Regions from separate parts of the Homo sapiens genome. Here region 2 is linked to region 1. Evidence: promoter capture Hi-C in 16 types of primary human blood cells and fetal thymus (Javierre and others, 2016). All regions are on one chromosome and are shown on one strand. Each heading gives the region's core, a stretch centred on a gene start or on the middle of the fragment in contact. The rest is flanking DNA. Distances are from core to core; before and after follow the strand shown. Region 1 holds the start of PTPN14 (protein tyrosine phosphatase non-receptor type 14). Region 2 has its middle 66 kb from the start of SMYD2.

Evidence for each region. The method cuts DNA at HindIII sites, captures the fragments that hold promoters and counts their contacts. A CHiCAGO score of 5 or more calls a contact.
Region 2: a fragment that was not itself captured here is called in contact with the fragment with the promoter of PTPN14 in region 1 in 2 of 17 cell types (megakaryocytes and endothelial precursors); the score reaches 6.0 in megakaryocytes.

What each region holds. Positions count from the first base shown.
Region 1 is chr1:214,549,495-214,553,753 of GRCh38, forward strand. It overlaps PTPN14 (protein tyrosine phosphatase non-receptor type 14), which reads right to left and starts at 2,108. Exons shown (of 19, transcript NM_005401.5): 1 at 1,689-2,108. RefSeq lists enhancers at 771-1,592, 1,593-2,413, 2,414-3,234. The HindIII fragment of the contact is 5,292 bases long and covers 66-4,259 here.
Region 2 is chr1:214,213,363-214,217,639 of GRCh38, forward strand. No RefSeq gene overlaps it. Among named protein-coding and RNA genes, the nearest start is that of SMYD2, 66 kb to the right of the region's middle. The HindIII fragment of the contact is 220 bases long and covers 1,278-1,497 here.

The sequences.
Region 1 (4,259 bases), core at 858-3,357:
ACTGGGCAAAAAGGGCATCATGCCATTCAGCTCCCGCTCATTAAGGCTGTCATTTCTATGGCACAAGCTTCAACCTCATCACCAAACAATTAGCTAACTTTATAATACAAGGTCCGTAATGCTGCGGTATTACCACACCTACGGCTGTCAAACAGCCTTTTTAAAAAAGGAATCATTGCTTGAATGTGGGGGACAAAAAAGAAGAATCAATACCATTTTAATGAAACCGAGCATGGGCCAATTAAAATGTAGATGATCATACAACAGCTGCTTGTGGTAAAACAGCAGCAGGCATGGAGGTGTATCCAATTAGGGAGGCCTTGGCTCCTCGGTAAGCTACTTGTGGTTCCCATAAGTGGCTAACGTGCTTCTAGATTTATTTCTGATATTGGGGGTGGAGAGAATGCTATCCCAGCAACACTGCACCAACATGGCCATAAATGCCCCTCAGGCCCCCAGATGGCTAGGGAAACTTTCTGTCCTTCTTGTGTTCACTCTGCACGAGCTGTTTCCTCTGCCTGGAATACACCCTCCAGAGGAGCACAACCTCTATCCTCTAAGTGTAGTGCACCCTTCACCAGGACCAAGCTCGCCTCAGACTCTCACAGAACCCCTCTTCCATGTATTATCATTCTTCACCGGCCTTCAAGTTTCCTCCACTAGGCTGCAGACTCCTGCCCTGTGATCTCATTTAGCATCTTTCTATCCTGTTCCTAGCAGAGTAGAAGCTGGGTTTGTTGGATGAATGAGTAAACTAATCCATTTCAAGAAGTTAACACATTGGTGGAAACTCTGTAACTGCCCGCACCTGCAGTCTAGAGATTCCTCACCTTCACAAAGAACCTGCGACAGCCAGTCCCTAGACTTAAGCGGAAACCCCACAATTTCTGAAATTGTAGGTGGGGATGAGAAGGTTGGAGAACAAGAACCCAAGGAAGTGAGAGGGAAAGGGAGATAGGGGCAGCGTTACCTCACTGCTCTCTCCAAACGAAAAGGTGTAAACCCCATTTACAAGTATTCAAACCTGAGATCTGGGGGTCACGTGGGGAAGGAGAGGCTGTTAATACCTACAACTTTGGAAGTTTGAGGTGAAGACCTGATCTGAAATTGTTTGGCCACAGCTTTTTTTCTACGAGCCAGCTCGACCACCCAAGTAGGAGCCTCGACGCCCAGGAGTTCGGTGGCACCACTGGGGCCTAGTGAGAGGGCAGGAAAACTCCGCTCCCCTCAAGATTCCTTCCCGGTGGTGGTGGGGTGTGATTGGGAGCGTCGGGCAGCTGCATCCCCCTACCGCTGCAGCGACCGCGACGTCGTTCGTCTTTCATCCTCTAGCCCCCAAGGTCTAGGTATCTCTAGTTGCCCTTCCGAGGCCCTCTCTCGTTCCCAAAACGCAGAAGGGAATGGAGAGAGGGGACCAGGGTGTGGGTTTAACCACAAACTCCCCAGACTGCGCTCACCTTCCAGCTCGCTCCCGGGACCAGCTTTGCGCCTCACCGCGGGCAGCTCCCACCGCGAGATAACACCCCTGCGGCCCGGCCACCCCGCGCCCCAGGCTGCCCTGCCAGGCGTCCCGGGGCGCCAATCGCAAGTTGGCGTTGCCAGCGTCTGCCCAAGTCATCTGCAGGGCGCCCGGAGCGCCAAGGCGGCCTCCAACCTCGGGCCCAACTCCCGGCTTGGACGGGGCTTACCTGCTTACATGGCCCCCGTGGCGCCCCGGAGTCCCGCGCGGAAAGGCTGTCCTTCGCGGCGGCGGAGCCGATTCCCCACGGAATTGATTCCAGTGACTGGCGGAGGAGGGGCGAAGGGAAGGAGCCGCAGGAGGCGAAAGGGGAGGGAGGTTTCCGCCGCGATCCCGGCGCGAGAGTCCGAGCAGAGGCGCACCGGGGGAGAAAAGGAGAAAAACCTAAGCACGGGGCTGTCCCGCCCGAGGAGGCCGGGGAGGATGGCTCAGCTGGGAGGGGAAGGAGCGCCAGTGGCCACTTGATGTCTGTCTAGGGCTCCCCGAGGACCTGAGCCAGGAGAGCAGGCGGCTGAGCCCGGAGAAGCACAGCAACCTGCCCCCGAGTCTGCGCCCGCTGCGCTCACTCCGCCGAGAAAAAGTTGGAAAGAACTTTGAGGGGCCGGGAGAGCCAGAGCGGCAGGAAATGCGAGCGGCCGGGAGAGGAGGGAGGAAGGGGCCGTGCGAGTGGGAGGGGACGGAGCAGGCGCCGGCGGCCACGGCTCCCCCACCCCAGAGCCGGGCTCCGCGGCCCTGGGGGCCGGGAGGCGGAGGGAGCGCTGGGCGCGCGGCCGGGGGCGGGGAGGAATGCGGCCCGGGAGGGCGCGCGCCGGGGGCGCCGCGGGCGCGCGCTGAAACGTGGAGCCCCAGCTCCCGAGCTCCCGAGCTGGAGGCGCGCCGTCCTTGGGGACGTCACAGCGCTGGAATCCGAGGAATGCCGGGCTGCAGGAGCTCCTTCTGCAGGCCCGGAGAAGTCGCACACTTTTAATGGGGTAGTTTTGGAAAATGTTTTAAAAGGTGGGGGCCGAGGACGGAGGACCGGATGAAACTCCCTGGAGTAAGAGACGTGGAAGTGGAGAGAGCAAGGCGACCGCAGCCACCCCAACCCTGGGCTGCTCCCGCCGTTGGGGAGAAAGAGGCAAGGCAAGGAAGAGCCCACCTAGACTTCCGAGGACCGCAGAGACGGGGCGGCGGCAGGAACTTGCTCACCCCGACCTACATTCAGAATAGTCCACCTTATATTGGGGAACCCTCCAAGCAGGACGTTTCATGCAGCCACCCCACAGGGGAAAACAGACCAGGAGAAAGTAAGGTGGCCTCACCAAGTAGGCAATCTCAGAGATCTCTCCCTAGAATCTCTGGGTACTGGACCCGGTGTCTTAGCCTTCTCTCCCTGCCCCCTCCCGCCCCGTAGGAATGATAAAAAGCAGCCTGTGTGCTGAGAGTTGGAAAATGTCGTTTTCCCGGTTTGTTCCATGCCACAGAATCGCCCCACCCTGCCTGGGTAGGCACTGGGAGGGAACTTCCTTAGCACTTTCGGAGGTGGAGTTAATGAGACGCAGCTGGTATGATGGAAAAAGCTCGGAGCCAGGCGACTGAACCTGGGTTTTAGGCCCTGCCCGATTGGATAACTGAGGAGTATCCCAGCCCCTGAGATCCTAGGTTTCTGTAGCTGCAAAATTAAATAATTTGTCTAGATTTCTGTGGTCCTTTGCATTGCTACAAACATGTCTTGGGATTTATCTCGGTAAGATTCCAGTCCTTTGTTGAAAAGGGACCTTGAAGTCGTTGGCACACAATGTATTGTCCCAAATCACTTCAGTGTCCGGCAACTCATGCAAAAATTCCTGGCCTCTTGGGGAAGAGAATTGGAAACCAAAAAGCGCGGTGGCTCACACCTGTAATCCCAGCACTTTGGGAAGCCAAAGCTGGGGGATTGGCTGAGCTCAGAAGTTCGACACCAGCCCGGGCAACACGGTGAAACCCCGTCTCTACTAAAATTCAAAAAATGTTTCGGGGGTGGCGGCGTGCGCCTGTAGTCCCAGCTACTCTGGGGCTGAGGCAGGTTAATTGCTTGAACTTGGGAGGCGGAGGTTGCAGTGAGCCGAGATCGCGCCACTGCACTCCAGCCTGGGCTACACGGCCAGACTCCTCTCAAAAAAATAAAATAAAATAAAATAAAATAAAATAAATAAATCCGTAGTGACTCTGATTTTCTTCGAGCATCTGCCAATCTCTAGAACTGTAAATTAGAGAAAACGCCGAGTGCAATGCAAAAGTGATGGAAAGAAAAGGTTGAAGGGAAATCAACTTTCTCACATTTTAAAGGAAATAGCTGTACAGACGTGCTGGGTTTCCAAAGAAAACATTAGGCAGTGCCTGACTGTGTTCCAGAAAGTGTGGAAAGCACTCCCCCATTCCTAGATGAGGAAAGTGAGGCATGAAGAAATTACCTGTCTCACTGAGGGTCATACAACTAGGAAGATATGATCAGGGCCCTAGTCTGTCAGGCCTAAAGTGCATGCTCTTCATCTCTTTGAAATTGGACCCAAACAGGATTAGGATTAAAGATAAGAAAATGCCTTCAGGATCTCAATGTAAAACTCTGGCCTTTGCTCTTTCCTGGGAGATGGGAGACCTCTTGCTTGGTGTCTTTTCTAGTGAAAAGACACTAGGAAATATATTGTGTTGCTCTAACATCACTGTGCTACCAAACTGAGCACAGCACCCTGAGGCTGTTGTGGCATAAAAGAAGCAGCAA
Region 2 (4,277 bases), core at 138-2,637, 340 kb before region 1:
CAGGGACCCAGGCAATGTACAAGGCGAGACAAGTTCACATTCCAAGGTGAAATCGTCAGTCCAAGAGAGGACCAGATACTGGGCTATGGGAGCTCAGAGGTAATATGGATTATTCCAGCAGGAGGTAATAAAGAGGGCTCCAGAACAGAGGCTGCTGTTTTTGGGCTGAATTTCCAGAGTTAAAATGCAAGCAGTTTGGAAACAAAATTGGTACACAAATATTGGGCATAGGTTATAAATACCTAATTTATGGAATTCTCTATGTCCCAGAGTAATGCCTACCTAAACTCACATAGATTTCAAGCAAATAACAGATAACATTTATGGAGTACTCTTGCAGTGCAAGATACTATATGCTTTATATTTGAGAACTCAACGTAATCTAAGCAAAACCCTAAGAGGCAAGATCTAGTATCAAATCCACATTGCAAATGAGGAGAATAAGGCACTGAGGGGTTGAGTTTCTTGCTGAAGGTCACACAGACAATAAATTATACAGCCAATATTTAAACTCAGGTGGTCAGAGTTCAAATACTGCTTCTCAGACAAAGGAACAAAAATAATAAAGTCATTGCTCAAATAATTCAGTCCCTTCACAGAACTGTTATTTTGAAAAAAATAAATGTTGGATCCTGGTGAATTATGGCAAAATTTATCTGGGAAATTACATTTCAGGTTGAGAACGTACAGGAATAAAGCCTCTTTCTTCATAGGCATCATTGAAGTCATTCCAGAGTATTTTGTGCTATGGCCAGTAGATGGCAGAAAGTGACAAGAAAAGGACTGGAAACTGGGACCCCCCCCCCCACCACACACACACACACACACACACACACACACACACACACACACACACTAGCTCCCTGCTTGCAAAACAAAATGCATTTTGCCTACAATATATTTCGTTTAGAGTAGCAAACACTTTCTCCTTCCTCAAAGCGAGCTCCAGAGTAGAAACTGCAATTGTGTATTTGAAATTCTCCAGTCACCAAATCCAAGAAAGGTGAAGAGGAACTGCCCCAGTGGCGTCTGCGAGGCGTTTCCTCTATAAAGCTGTCGTCCCTAGCTCTGGTCAGTGCTGACCAAGTCACCCTGGCCTCCTCCCCGGCCCCTTTTTCTACTGCAGGAAAGGCTGGAGCTTCGGAAGAGATAACATCAGGGAAGTACTTGGCAACTATGAAGAGTTTTACCCATGTTAAAACAAAAGCCAGCAAAGCATTCCTTCAGTAAAGATATGTTAAGCACCTATCGTGTGCTGGGCTCTGGGCACAACCAAAAGCTTGGCAGCTGCTATTTAACCTCCTCCTGCTTCACCAGCAGCAAACTGTTGCCAAATGAGCCTAAAAAGAAATTAGTTCCATGGATTCCTTTGCTGAGTAATTCTGCAGTGAAAATAAGAGAAATCAGACACACTGGAAACTTTTAATTACAAGAAAACCTGGGGAATCCTATTGCCGTCTTAGATTTTAAAAGACCGCTCTAAGTATTGAACTCAGAAGCTTTAAAAGGAAAAGATATTATTAGACTTGACTACATAAAACTTTTAATCATCTGAACTTCAAAAAGCACTTTGAAAATCAGAAGAAAAAATAAAAAGCTGTAAAACATATGACAAAGAATTAATGTTCTTAAATATAAATATTCTAAGAGCTCTTATAAATCAATAAATGTATAGATCAATAAATCCTGTAAATCAATATTCTTATCAATTGATCAGATGGGCAAACGGCATGAAGAGGCATATCACAGGATAAAATGGAGCAAAGGGCCAATGAAACATTGGAAATGTGCTCAATTTAATTCATAGTAAATAAATACAAATTTAAATGGAAACAATAGTTTATTTTTCACCCCTGGGTATGGAGTCAGCCTTCTCCTGGGGTATTGGTAAGTATAAGTTGGCAAAACTTTTTCAAGAACAATTTGACAACATTTAGGAATATGTTTGCATTTCCTTGACTTAGAAATTCTGGTCTTCTCTGCCTCCCTCACTCAGGTGCACTCAGTCAGTCCTGTATCTTTCAACATGTCTCATAGACTGACAGTGGCCAAATTAAGTCTCCAGCCCTGACCTCTCCTCTGCACCCCAGGCTCCTTTCTGAACACCTCCCTTTGGATGTGTAATAAACACAGCAAACATCAGTCCACGATGGAATTCTTTTTCCTTTCCCCTACCTTCTCAAAACTGCTCCTGCTCCCCATCCCCTCTTAGTAAATGGCCCTGCCACTCAGCATATTAGTGAAGTCCCGGAACCCTGGAGTTATCCTTGATATGCTCTTCTGTCCTTGAACCTGCCACATTTCCATCTTTGATTTCCTGTTCCAGAATGTTCTCTCCCTTGCTTCATCAAGTCTCTCACCAGAGAAGTCTTTCCTGACCACACACTCTGGAATAGTAACTCTGTCACTCTCCATTCCCTCCACTGTCTTATTGTTCTTAGCTTACGTCACCACCTGATGTCATGACTCTTGCCTGTCTAGGCACTACTGTATAAGCGCCACTGAAGCAGGATCTATATTGTCTTCAACACAGCATTCCTAGTGCCTACCACATTTCTTGGCACATAGTGGGCTCTCAAAAATCAGTGTGGGATGAATGAATCCAGGACTTACCCTACAGATGTGTGTATGTGTGTATAAATATATATTCAATTAACTATGCCTTAATAGGGACTAGTTAAGTGGATTATAATTTTTTAAAACCCTCAGTTTCCTCATACAAAAATAGGATAGAAAAAAGTACCTATCTCATATGGTTTTTGTGAGAATAAAATAAAAATGACACCTGGTACTTGGTACATAGACACATTCAACAAATGTTAGGTACTGGCAGCTCATCACTGCTTGGCAGCCGATAAAAAGAATGAGTTAAATCAAATGTACTGACCTGGAAGATGTCCACAACATATGGTTAAATTAAAAAACCAAGGTTGCAAAGCAATGTGAATACTATGCTCTTAGGGAAAGGCCCAGAAGGAGTTCAGGGAAGCATCTGAAGGTGATGGGTGGCTGTGGTAGCCACCTATGGTGAATGAAGTTCACAGAGAAAGGTCTGGGGAAGAGAGAAGAGACCAGGCATGTAACGTATTTGCTTAAATATGCTTCTGTATGGTTTGAATGTTTGGCAAAGCATATTGATACTTTTACAATATTTTTTAACTTTAAAAGCAGATAACGCCCCAGAGAACTACTCTGTTGTTACGCTGTAACAGGGAAATGTGTTGAGCTTCCAGGCTGCTAAAGAAATTTTGCCCCAGCCTGCCTTGAATTTTTGTAGGTAAAACCTGACACTACAGGAAAAGTTTGGGACAAGTTTAGCAAGCATATTCTACTCAAGTCTGGTGAGAAAACTGTAATTGTTAGATTTGATTTTTTAAGCAATACCACAGGATGGCTAGAAGGATTCGATGAATTGGCAAATGTGAAACATGGAGCCCTTGTACCTAATGGCTGTCCATTAGATACCAGCTGTGTCAGAATGTGATGCAGACAGGAACATTTTCAAGGACTGGGGAGAGTTATTAAATTGCATTTGCTGTTTGTTCTCCTTCACTGAACAAATATTTATTGAGCATGCACTATGTGCCAGGTGCTGGGCCAGACATAGGTATTCAGCAGGACCAGACAGACTTCATTTTTGCCTTCAGGGGAATTCCCTCCTTTTGTACTCATGCAACTGCAATGCTTCCAGGGTTAGGCAGGATTTCAGGCAGCCTGGTTATTCAGGTAGCATGCTTATCTTCAGAGCTGTGGGTTTTCTGTCTAGAATTAAACTACAAAGTGATGAAAGCATAAGGACTATCTCTAAATTTGGAAATTTAACCAGGATCTTTCTTGAGCAATGAAATGGCATGAAAGTAGTTCCCAAATAGCAGTATTCCAAAAGTGCAATGCTAATGAAACAACACACTACAATAGCAGGAGTTGTATTCCACCCTTTATGTAGCAGGGATGAAGACTACAAGGAGAAAAGTCCACATGTTTGGTGAAAAGTAGCCCATTACCTAAGGAGAGGATTCTCTTACAAGTAAAATAAAAACTCAAGCCATTACACCTATGTACAAGAGTCAAAGTTCCATGGGCCCTTCTTGACCTAGGATCTACTTGAAGAGGGACACATGCCCCATGCAACAGCCGAGGGATGAGACATGAAGGGGAGAAGGCGGATTGGGATACGCTTTCAACATCATCCCCCAGAGCAGATTCCTTGCTCCAAGCTTGGAGGACTCTTCCTGCAAGAGCTGCATCCATAGCAGAAATCATACACATTTGAGAAT